Linked DNA regions of Homo sapiens: all the other regions are linked to region 2. Evidence: promoter capture Hi-C in 16 types of primary human blood cells and fetal thymus (Javierre and others, 2016). All regions are on one chromosome and are shown on one strand. The core of a region is centred on a gene start or on the middle of the fragment in contact, and the rest is flanking DNA. Distances in the headings are between cores, read along the strand shown. Region 1 overlaps C5orf67 (chromosome 5 putative open reading frame 67). Region 2 holds the start of C5orf67 (chromosome 5 putative open reading frame 67). Region 3 has its middle 96 kb from the start of MAP3K1.

What was found. Contacts are between HindIII fragments. The CHiCAGO score rates a contact against its expected background, and 5 or more counts as called.
Region 1: a fragment that was not itself captured here is called in contact with the fragment with the promoter of C5orf67 in region 2 in 2 of 17 cell types (naive B cells and total B cells); the score reaches 7.2 in naive B cells.
Region 3: a fragment that was not itself captured here is called in contact with the fragment with the promoter of C5orf67 in region 2 in 2 of 17 cell types (total B cells and naive B cells); the score reaches 7.8 in total B cells.

Annotation. Positions count from the first base shown.
Region 1 is chr5:56,519,321-56,522,946 of GRCh38, forward strand. All of the region lies in intron 4 of C5orf67 (chromosome 5 putative open reading frame 67), which reads right to left. Among named protein-coding and RNA genes, the nearest start is that of LINC01948, 39 kb to the left of the region's middle. The HindIII fragment of the contact is 3,906 bases long and covers 325-3,626 here.
Region 2 is chr5:56,604,809-56,608,727 of GRCh38, forward strand. It overlaps C5orf67 (chromosome 5 putative open reading frame 67), which reads right to left and starts at 1,448. Exons shown (of 6, transcript NR_161255.1): 1 at 1,214-1,448. The HindIII fragment of the contact is 384 bases long and covers 1,107-1,490 here.
Region 3 is chr5:56,717,515-56,721,196 of GRCh38, forward strand. No RefSeq gene overlaps it. Among named protein-coding and RNA genes, the nearest start is that of MAP3K1, 96 kb to the right of the region's middle. The HindIII fragment of the contact is 396 bases long and covers 1,526-1,921 here.

The DNA of each region.
Region 1 (3,626 bases), core at 1,028-3,527, 85 kb before region 2:
CCATTATAAAATGAGATGAAATCCATTTTCATAAAGGCATGTTTGAAGAGCTGTGTGGGGTGGCAGGGTCAATCCCTGCCAGATAATAGGGAAAGACTTCTCGCATGGGAGAACATTTGACCTGAAATTTGAAGCTTGAGAGTAAGTTTGCCAAACCTGAGAAAGCCACTGTCAGCAAAGAAAACAGCAAACATTCAAAGAACCATGGGCGGCTTAGTGGGCTGGAAGCTCTGGGAGAGGTGGCTGGAAAGGCATCAGGACTGTCATGAAGGGGCTTGTGGGGTTTGCTTAGGAGCTTCTACTTCATCCCAAAGGCCATGGGGAAGCTTTATGCATTTAAAGTTGGGGACTCAGTGGGTATTAGCCACACGTTTGAAAGATTTCTCTGGACTAGCCTCTTAAGGGGTTTCCTCTTCTCCAGCATCCACACCCCTCACTGAGAGTCCAGCCATCACCCTGCTGCCAATCTCAACCTTCTGAAACCCACATTGGATGCTGTCACTCTTCTGCTTCTTCCCATTGCCTCCAGGTGAGAGCCGCATTTCCACTCCCTTTCTGTCCAGCCCCTCTCCTGCCTGCTCAGTCTCTGCCATGTGCTTCTTCTGTTGCAGACATACCCCATCGCTGGCCCCACCCCAAATACACCACACTTTCAGATTACTCTGCACCAATGCTCTTCTCCAAATTGCCAGCCTGAATAAGTCCTTATCTTTCAGGCAGTATAGTGGAGAGAAAAGAGCACAGATTTTACATACAGATTGATCAGGGGTGTAGTCCTGGTTCTGCCACTTCCTGGCTCTGTAATGTTCAGCAGGCCACTGAAACTCTGAGCTTTGGCTGCCAAACCTCTCTAAGGGACATAACACCCACTTTTCGAGGCTACTGTGAGGATTAAATGCAATAACAGAGGTAAGTGTGTGGCGTGAGCACAGCAGACTGCACCTGGAGTGAGCCTGCTGGACCCACAAGCCTGCTGGACTTCAGCTTTCCCCGCAACAGACCCCTGCTGCGCTTCCCAGTATGTACATCTGGAATCTGTCTTAGTTCCTTGCTCTAACCCAGCCTGGTTCCTGCCACATTCTTCACACCAAGGGAGGCCCTGCTCCCCAAGCCCCAGCCATTGCCTGGTGTCCTGCTGCAAACCCAGGGGATCCCTGGAGGCCACGATGCTGCCATTTGCCCGCACTCCAGCCCCTCTCCACCACCATGTCAGCCCCTGCCAGAGATGGATGCTGACACCCATGGATCCGAGCTCATTGCATTGTTTGGATGTAATTTTGATTTCATTGCTATTCACCTACAAAGTTGCCTAGCTCCTAAGCCCAAGTTCTGCCTTTTTCCACCTTATTCGCATCTTCCCATCAGCTAGCAAAGGATGGCTTTGAAATCTGTGCCTTATACACTGTACAATAAGTCCCATGGCTTATGACCATAACTAAGGTGATTATGTAATTTATTATCTAAATCATTACTTTTTGAGACTGAAAGGGCACAATCAGAGTTAACTAAATGTGTGGTCATTCAACCCATAACCCAGATAGCATTGGTCACTGGGGAGATGCAAGAGTGAGCCCAAGAAAGAAATTTTTGTCTTCATCTATCTCCTCTATGGGCTGTGCCTATGTTGCCTTCAGCTGTAGAGACGTCACTTGTAATTTTAGTTTGTTCTCATCAGCCCGCTCTGTTGTTATGGTTCACCTAGGGAAGCATCCAGCCACTAAGAAATAGAAGGGAGAACAATGCTTCACTGCCTGCCATGCCTGAGGCGCAGAGCGGCTGTTGGCTGCTCTGCCAGGAGCTCTGCAGGGACATGGCAGCCGTGCTCCGTGTGGGTGGGAAAGGTGGCAGCATTTTGCGGTGCTCGTCATTCTTATTTGACAACTGTTTGGGGTTTTAGAAACTCTTGGCATTGGTTTATAACACCCCACCCACCCTGTCTCGGTAACTACCATTTGCCCTCCCTACAAGAGGTCATGCCAATTCTGAGATGAGGCAAGGCAGGCTCAGCAGCCCTGGCTGGCTCCCACTCTGACACCTAAAGAGCTTTGTCTTGCCTCTGGTCAGACTCACAACTTCCTGTACCCCTCAGAATCAAGCCCTTATGAGGGGGTTCAAGTGCCAGAATGCTGACTTCCCACAGACTGGCAATGGAAATGCTTTCAGAAAGCATATTGAGTTAACATGATTTTTAGTCATTTGCATCATTATGAGAGAATCTGTGGGTGTGTGCCTTAGAGAGTGTGAACACATTTATTCTGGCGTTTGATAATATATTGCCATTTAAAGGAAATTCCCTTCAGCTCTTTTATTTCACCATCATGTATGGCCTTGAGCTAGCCCGCCATATGAACCTCCTAGGAGTAGGGTGAAATGGAGAAAGGAACCAGGACCAAGTTACCCTGTATACGTGACAGAGATAATGGAGGAGGGGGTACAAAAGTGCCCACTGAGGGGCTCAAATAATACTCTTTAAAGTCTCCCTGCAGGGCAGGGCATGGCAGCTCATGCCTGTAATCCCAGCACTTTGGGAGGCCGAGGCAGGCAGATCACGAGGTCAGGAGTTCAAGACCAGCCTGGGCAACATGGTGAAACTCCATCTGTACTAAAAATACAAAAATTAGCCGGGCGTGGTGGCAGGTGCCTGTAATCCCAGCTACTCGGGAGGCTGAGGCAGGAGGATCGCTTGAAACCAGAAGGCAGAGATTGCAGTGAACCGAGAGCGCACCACTGCACTCCAGCCTGGGTGAAAGAGCGAAACTCCATCTCAAAAAAAAAAAAAAAAGAGTCTCCCTGTATTGTGCCCCCACCTCAACTTTGAGAATTACCATTATATTTGTTTAAGTCCTCCTAAAACTAGTAATTATTGAGCGATTGCTTTGTACCAGCAGTTCCTAACCCACATAATCACCATGTGAGCAGGCACTGTGGTCCTCACTTTACGGATGTGAACACAATGGCCCACAGACCTTAAAACAGTTCCCCAAGAGCACACGCTAGTAAGAGGTAGCTCAGAGCCAGGTCTCTTGGCTTTGAAATCTGTGCCTTATACATTGCACAATAGTCCTCTCAATTTTATGCTGCAGACCTTAGCCACAACGGAGAGATTCAGTTCTGTGTGTGGTCCATTTATCATAATGACTGTCATCTCGGGTAGAATAGACAAGGACAAAATGTATACTGCCTACCTTTTTGAAAAAGAAGTATATTTGGTTGTTCTGGGATAAGGGATGGGGAAGAGAGTGAAAGCATTCAAATTAAATTATAAGGATATGATAGGCCAATTTAAAGATAATCAAAGTCTTTGGGTTTTCATTATTTTATTTTGCTTGGATTATTCTTGAATTGGCTGGAACTCCAAATCATGCTTAGAATTAATTCCCCAAATCTTGCATTTAGGAAAATGGCCTCAGAATGCAATTAATAAAATGGCAAATTTTAATTCATCATTCTAAATTCTCCATTACTTCAAACACATATTTCAGGCAGATTTGATATATAGGTATTTGAAATTACTAGGAGTCATAAAACAAGGCATTAAGTCTGGAATCTGGAATTTTCCCTTTAGAATAAACCTGCATTCGATGATTATTCCTACATGAAACTGTGCTATTGCAGCCCTTGCTCCA
Region 2 (3,919 bases), core at 198-2,697:
AAAGTTTTGCCATATAGAACACAGCCACACAAACAGGCCCCTCCTAGTCAATCACTGAATCCAGCCTCTCCAGACTCAACAATCTGACTTAGGATCTCAGAATTCCAGGAAATACTAGGGATGGCTTGGCTGCCTCCTTGGTTATAGGTGAGGAAACAGGCGAATGGTGAAATGACTTAACCAAAGTTCCCAGAGCTGGCACATTTATAGCTGAGATCTCCCAATACTGTTGTCTTACTCCTGCACGCAAAAATTAGTGGATGTTTTGTTCTTTTTTTGTCTTTCAAAGGACTTGGTTTCATTGTTAAAAGAAACCTCACTGCAAGTTACCAAGCTGTCAAACCCTGAGGCGGGATGAGCCACTATTTTTCAAATCCGTGCACCAGTAGTGCTTCTGTGACATCACCCAACACAGAATATCTTAAAATCGATTTCAGGAATGGATCTCGTAACCAAAAAACAGCTTGTTCAGAAAGGGGCACCTATGCACGTAGCAGATGCCTTCTATCTGGTCTCCATCTTCTATCAGGTCTCCCTTTCTCTCTCTTTATTACTGCCCCCCACCTCTGGGAAACTGCCACACCCAGCCACTAAGACCAAGACTTTGCGCACTAAGACTGTGTCGACAGATAAGCAGAAAAGTACAGCACTAGTTTCATCTAGTGTTCTGCCCTGTGTTTCAGTTGAGAGAAATTTCACACATATACACAGACACAGACACACACACACATACTCTCTCTCTCTCTCTTCCTAAGAAATGAATATAGAGCAGCTAAAACCAGATAAGTTCTAGATCCCTGAGGCTTGAGACCCAAGCCTGAGACTGTTCTTAATTGGCCTCATTGACAGCAGATGCCCAGCTCCTCTGCCCCACTCTCTAGGATCCTGCACAGATGTGGCCAAATTCTTCCCCACCAAACCAGCTTTAGACTCTCCTGGGCCTGGCGATCCATGCCTTCTTCTTCACCCCTCTCCTGAAGATTCCTGTGACTATGGGTCTGGAAGCCCTTTCTGCCAAGACACCACTTTCCTCTTCTGGTCTCATTTGGTTTGTCTGACCCTTGGCTGGTTCTAATCCTTGGTGGATTCCTTCACATACTGCTCTAAGCTTGCCCTTTGACTGCATTACCTCGAGCCTTTCTACAAGGCACCAGCTCTATTTCCTGGCCAGAAGTAGAAATTCCCTCCCCCGCTGCGCAGAAGTCCCACTCACAGAATTCGGCTTCATTGCTTCTCTGCCTCTCCAGCTCCATTCCTCGAAGAGCAGAGATGACAAGATGTAGGTTCTGTGTATGCATCCATGTTCTCACTGATGGCTCAGCCAGCATCTCTAAAGTTTTTTTTAATGATTAAGGGCCTTTGGGTTCCCCTGTGGCACTTCCTTGGAGGTAAGGGCTCAGGTGAAGTTGTTCATTTGGCTGTTGATCCCAGGGGAGCACAGGGAATATGAAACAGGGAAGAGAGGAAAGCTAATAAAGAATGTGTTAAGAAGCTTTGGGCAATCAGGGCTTCCTCTAGCAGGAAACCCTTAGGAGACTGCAGAACATTCCTTGGAATGAGGGCAAGGACTTTGGATTATTTATCCAGCCAGGACTTTCCCTCTTTGGCCAAGGGTCATTCCTTGGGCAATAATTCCCTGGCACTTGCAGACTAACCTGTGTGCTTCCAAGCTCATTTCTTTTTTCTTTTTTCCTTTTGTCTTTTTTTTTTTTTGAGATGGAGTCTTGCACTGTTGCCCACGTTGGAGTGCAATGGTGCGATCTCGGCTCACTGCAACCTCTGCCTCCTGGGTTCAAGTGATTCTTCTGCCTCAGCCTCCTGAGTAGCTGGGATAACAGGTGCCCGCCACCACACCCAGCTAATTTGTTGTGTTTTTAGTAGAGATGGGGTTTCACTATATTGGCCAGGCTGGTCTTGAACTCCTGACCTTGTGATCCGCCTGCCTCGGCCTCCCAAAGTGCTGGGATTACAGGTGTGAGCCACCATACCCAGCCGCTTCCAAGCTCATTTCTATGGCTGAAGAATGCCCTCAGGCAGAGAGAAGCAGGAGGTTGTCTGTCTACACAGCATGTGACTACAGCCAAACTCTGGGGTGGCCAAGGGGACATGGGTTGGACACCAACAGCGTCTGCTACAAAAGTGGTTGTTGCCACCCCTCAGAATCCCCCTCTCTGTGTGATCTTCCAGATTCAATGTAATACGTACTGAATGCTGCCAAATATAATGTACCAGACTAGACTCAGGTAATCACAAAGATGTGTAAGACAGAGTTCTTCTCCACACAGAACTTTCAATTTGATGTAAGAGACAAACAGAAATAAAAGTCTTTATAGAAAAGTAAGTCTTTATAGAATAAAGAAGAATATGAGAAGGGCTGTATTAGAGCCATGAATCACTGGCTGTGAGAGCTGCGGGAAGATGAGATTAATTTTGACTAGAGGGAGAAGGCTATCAGGGCAGTTTTCCAAAGCTAAAATATTTTAAACATATGCTAAATCGACAGACATCCAATTCCCACCAAGAGCAAAAGAATAAACATTCTTTCGCAGGGCCCTAAAGCCAGAAAGCAGTGAAAGAATTAGAACCATTTTATCTCAATTCACAAAAGGAAATAAGTGACATCTTTCAGTATCACCCCATCTTCTAGATGCAACGTTTAAAACCAAGTCACAAGAGCAAGATGTTCTTCCTGCTCCACGTTCAACTATGCATTTGAAATCTGTTCTCATTTGTCGAAATGAGCAATTAATTAACAGTCTTTGTGAAGTTCTCAGACTCAACAAGTGTGCCCCTCTCCTGCTGCCTCTGCCACAGGCAGCCACTTTGCATGTCCCTGCTTTTGAAAGACAACTTAGGAATGAAGCTAAACGAGACATCAGCAGTTTTCCAAATCCAGGTGAAGAAAGTGAATGACTTCAGCATGAAAGACAGGGCTGGGGCGACAGGGGAGAGCAGGAGACGGATGAGTCAGCCCATGTTCGTGGAAAGCTGGGGTTTGTTGGAAGAATCTCAAGCTTTCATTTTGTGGTGTTTGGAAGCTTAATTCCCAGCTTCTAATTAAACATATAAACTGTAATCACAAAGGTATTTCACAAGTAGTTCCTTGGATGTGGCAGGGGTTCTAAGAACCAATTTGAGATGCAGGGAGGAGCGGGAAAGGCGTGGAGAGGAAGCAGGCCTGGGAGTGAGAGTGTACTGGGCTTCAGGAAGCTACCTGCTGAGGAGGTGCTGGGGACCCCACACCTGAGCTCCACACTGGAGGGATGCAGACAGAGAGGATGGGGATGGAGCCGTGCAGTGGGGCCTTTTTGTTCTTCTTGCCCAGGTCCTTCTCTCCTGCCTCTCTGGCTGCCCGGCTCCAAGTCAGAGACTTGAATATGCAGCTGGAAGTTTGGGTATTGGCAAGAAATAGCAACTGCACCCCACCTCACCATTCAAGTTCATATGTGGCCCTGCCCCTGCCACCCTCTCAGAAAGGAGATGCTAACGGGCAATGACAAGGAGGAAGTTATGGCACAATGGCAGACTTAAAGTGCCCAGTCATGCTATTACTGCACTCAGCTGAGAATTCTGCAGGGGCAGGGAGCGGGGGATGGAAACCCCTGGGCTTCTCTCGTTTTGTCCCCTGCAGAGTGACTCTGCAGCATTATAATATCTGCCCCAGCCAAAACACAACTGCTCTCCTGCCAGAAGGGAGATTTTTGCCAGATGCAAATCACATGCTGGCCAGAAGCACCAAGGCCCTGGGAAGAAGTGTGTGTTTTCTGGTGGGGAGAAGAATGTGGTATTCAGAAGTCCAACTCAAGGAGATATATAGATCTTGAGCCCTTCACCCAAGGTTGCTCTGTGACTCCACTGCCTAGCATGGTTTAACAACCATACAGCTTAACCATAATAGAGACAAGTTCTAGATCAGTGG
Region 3 (3,682 bases), core at 474-2,973, 110 kb after region 2:
GGAAGAAAGCTGAGGTTCTGAGTAAGTTGAATCAGAGAATATGAGGACAAAAAAAAAGGGAGAACCTGACAACTGGTTAATGTGGAGCAATTGTCAGCTTTAGAAGCCCATTCAGGCTGGAGAGAGACCCATCCTCCTAATATGACAGCCATGGGTCATGACAGAATTAGACCTGGGTTTTCCAGGTGTCTGTAGGTGTACCAGGGAAAGCCAGGAGAGCCAACAGCAGTTCCACACCAACCCAGCTCAGGAAGGCGGACCGAACAGCGGCACAGAAAGCAGCTTGTACAGTCAGCAACCCTGAAACAAACGCTCCTCTCCAATGCAATGCCAATCGGACTCCTTCGCCAGGAGTAAACGTGATTCTTCTTGCGATTAGTTCAGAAACTTGCCTTCCAGAGATTAAAAGAAAGCAGCTTTGGAGAGGTTGGATGCAGTTGTAAAAAGAAAAATGCCTGAGCTTTGCAGAGAAAGCTGGACATGTACTTGACCCAGTTACAATCTTCCTTTCTCTTTTTTCCTGCTGGTTCAGGAGCATATCTCTTTCCTTACTTGAAAGAAATGTTTCCTTTGCAGTGGGATTTTGATTTTAAAGTTAGGTTATGTTCATTTTAATTTTCTTTTCTTCTGTGTTTTTTCTTTTAAAAACATTATATGAAAATTAACAGTTGCTCCTTATAGAAAATATGGAAAAATACAAAAGAGAAAATTAAAATCACACCTAATTCTACCATTTGGATGATCACTGTTAATATTTTAATTTTTCTTTATTATTTTCAAGTCTTTTAAGTTTTCATTATGTTTGTGTATGTTCATATGTGTGTGTATGCACACACACGCATATATATATATATATATATATATATATATATATATATATAGTTATTTTACAAAATTGGGATTTTCCAAAATATCGTTTTGTGATCTGCTTTTTTCCACTTATTATAATGGAAACATTCTCAAGCAATTAAATGTGTTTCTTTGAAAACACATTTTTTAAATGACTACATAATTACTATTCCTTTTCAAGCTTTAACAGTCTGAGTGCAGTACATTAAATAAAATAATGTATCTATATTTTCCATTTTGATGTAACTTTAAGCCATTTGTGTTTGATTGCACTCATTTAATGTACTTCTCTATTGTTTTTGCAAGTTCAGACGCTTTAAGTGCAGCCAATTAAATTGAAAACACTAAGCACATCAGGAAAGATTTACCGATGGTATAAGCCACTAAAGAAACCTAAGCCAGCTGTTATTTCGCAAAACAGCTGTATCTATCTACAATCAAAGTCCACCTCCTATAAATAAGAGATTGCTTATTTGTTATGATTTTAGGTGCTACAGTAGGCTGGTTTCATTTTCTGGTGATGGCACTGTGTCTTCCCAAACATTCAGAAACCTTTTAACCCAATAGATGGCATTTAATATTAGACCATCGGCCATTTAGAAAAATCTAGATAATTGACTGCATTATTGGAAGGACTTAACTTTTGAACAGGTACTATTCCCAAAATCTGCTTTCAAGCTTGTTTGGAGCTCTTAGGAAACTTTCTCCCAAAGAAACGAGCTCTAAGAGGTGGGCAGCTGACAAGGAACCTGAGGCATCACATGCCATGCGAGGAGTTCCATCCAACAGCTCAGTGATGACTCTGGGAGAAAATGAATTCCAAACACTTTGGTGGGATCAGTGACTCTTTCTCACCTTTCACCCCAGCTAGCCAGCAGCAGGAATGAGGATTCCAGAGGAGAAACGTGGAAAACTCAAAAAGCAGAATTGGGAAAAGAAGGTTCCAGGGAAATCTGCCTCCTCCTCGGGGCCCTCTTGGTGTCCGTCAGCTTCTGGACACTCTTCTCTGAGCACCTCAGGGTGGCTCTACCTGCTTCGACTTTCTGCCATCATCACCTTTTCACATGCCTCAAGCTTCACACTCTACCCTGACCCACTTCCCAATTCTCTTAAGCCATCCTTTTCTTAAAGCAAGTTCAAAATCTTTTTTGAGGCTTTCAAAAAAGCACCTTGCTAGGAAACTGGGAAAAGAAAATTCAAAGCTCCCTCCTGAGTCAACTCATAATTGTAATATTCTATAGGGAAAGACAAGGATGACAGTAGGAAATAAGGCAGGTCTTACAGCACATAGAGGTCTAAAGAAAAACATGCGTCTGCATTTCAGAGGAACATTCTATGTCAATGACCTCTCTGAATATGGAGCCCCAGAAAAAAAGAAAGAAGAGCCAGACCCTAAAGGCAGAGACTAGGAATTCCACTTAAGGACCTCACAGGTAGCAAAGGGAGAAAACCTATGGAAGAATCAACTTCCTGTCTTCTTTTCCTCCCTTTTGCTATTATAATCGCCACCACCATCTGGATGAAAATGAAGGTACATTAAGAAGGGAATGAACATTTCCCAAGTTCTTGTCATTGATCAAGAATTGGTCTCTTGCAGAAGAGGGAATGAGACTCAGGGAGGTTAAGTAAGAAACAAGGACAAAAGTGGAGCAGTGCGAGGATGCCATTCTTCTCAGGAGCAAAGCCAACAACCAATTGGAGGACAGAAGGAAGTCCCAAAGAGTGTCAGCTGCGAGGGGAGGGTAGCCCTGTTTCTTGACTGCCCATCCCTGATCCTGAGAAAAATAGGCTTCCATTCCAAAGACTGCCCCTGCATTTGGAATGGATGTAAGGCATGCATCTGTAAATTGGGGCTGCGATTTGATTTTCATTCAGATGTTTTGGCATCATACACACACCACCAGGGCATGTTTTAGTTTCTACCAAAACAAAAGAAGCTCAGAAGAAGTTCTTTATAATTAAGTCTTTCCAACCAGGCAGCCACTCCTCCTTCTCCAGACTTCACTGTAAAGCTCCAAATTTGGTTCCAGGATCCCACTGAAGCCTACAGTCTAGAAACAAGTCAGGATTTAAACGTGGATTCTATTATTCCCAAAAGGAATGGTGCCATGTCTTACTTTCTGTTGTTTTTATGTAAACTTAACAGGATTTTTTTTTTCTCTTTCAGGATCACCCAATTGTAAATTTCATAGCTTCTTTCTTTTCCCTTTAGCTGTTTATATCAGTTTTTCAAATGGTTCATATAAAAAGTTTATATACTCTAAAGCCTTCCAATAAATCTAAGTTGTATACACTGTGATCTCTAGAAAAGTTACCTTTTCTATGGTAATTAACTTAGAGCTGTATTGTCTTATTTTAATAAATCATTTAACACTTGATATTCTCATTGACAAATAATATTCATTAAAAAAATTCCTAAGCAGAAGAGATGGATTAGAAGTTCAGACAATAATTGATATCTTAATAAAGATTCCTTCATATTTAGCAGATTACATTTTATCGCTCAGTTTAGAAATTGGCATCCCAAATGTTGTAGAAACAAAAATATGAGTATTCTTGGGATAGTCTTATTTTGAAAGCGTAAGAAAACCCTTGACAATTGTACACAAAAGATCCAGACTCTCAGCAGTGACTTGGGAGGAGGATGCAGTTCCTAACAGCAGCAAGGCAGCAAAAAAAAAAAAAAAGGCACCTCACCTACTTATAAAGGAAAAATTATTTGGACCTATTCTTGTGCTCAATTGTCCCCTCAGCATAGAATATATGCAACTGCTTCATTAGCACCACCATCAATTAGAAGTTCTTTGCAGTCTAAACATATTGGACAACTTTA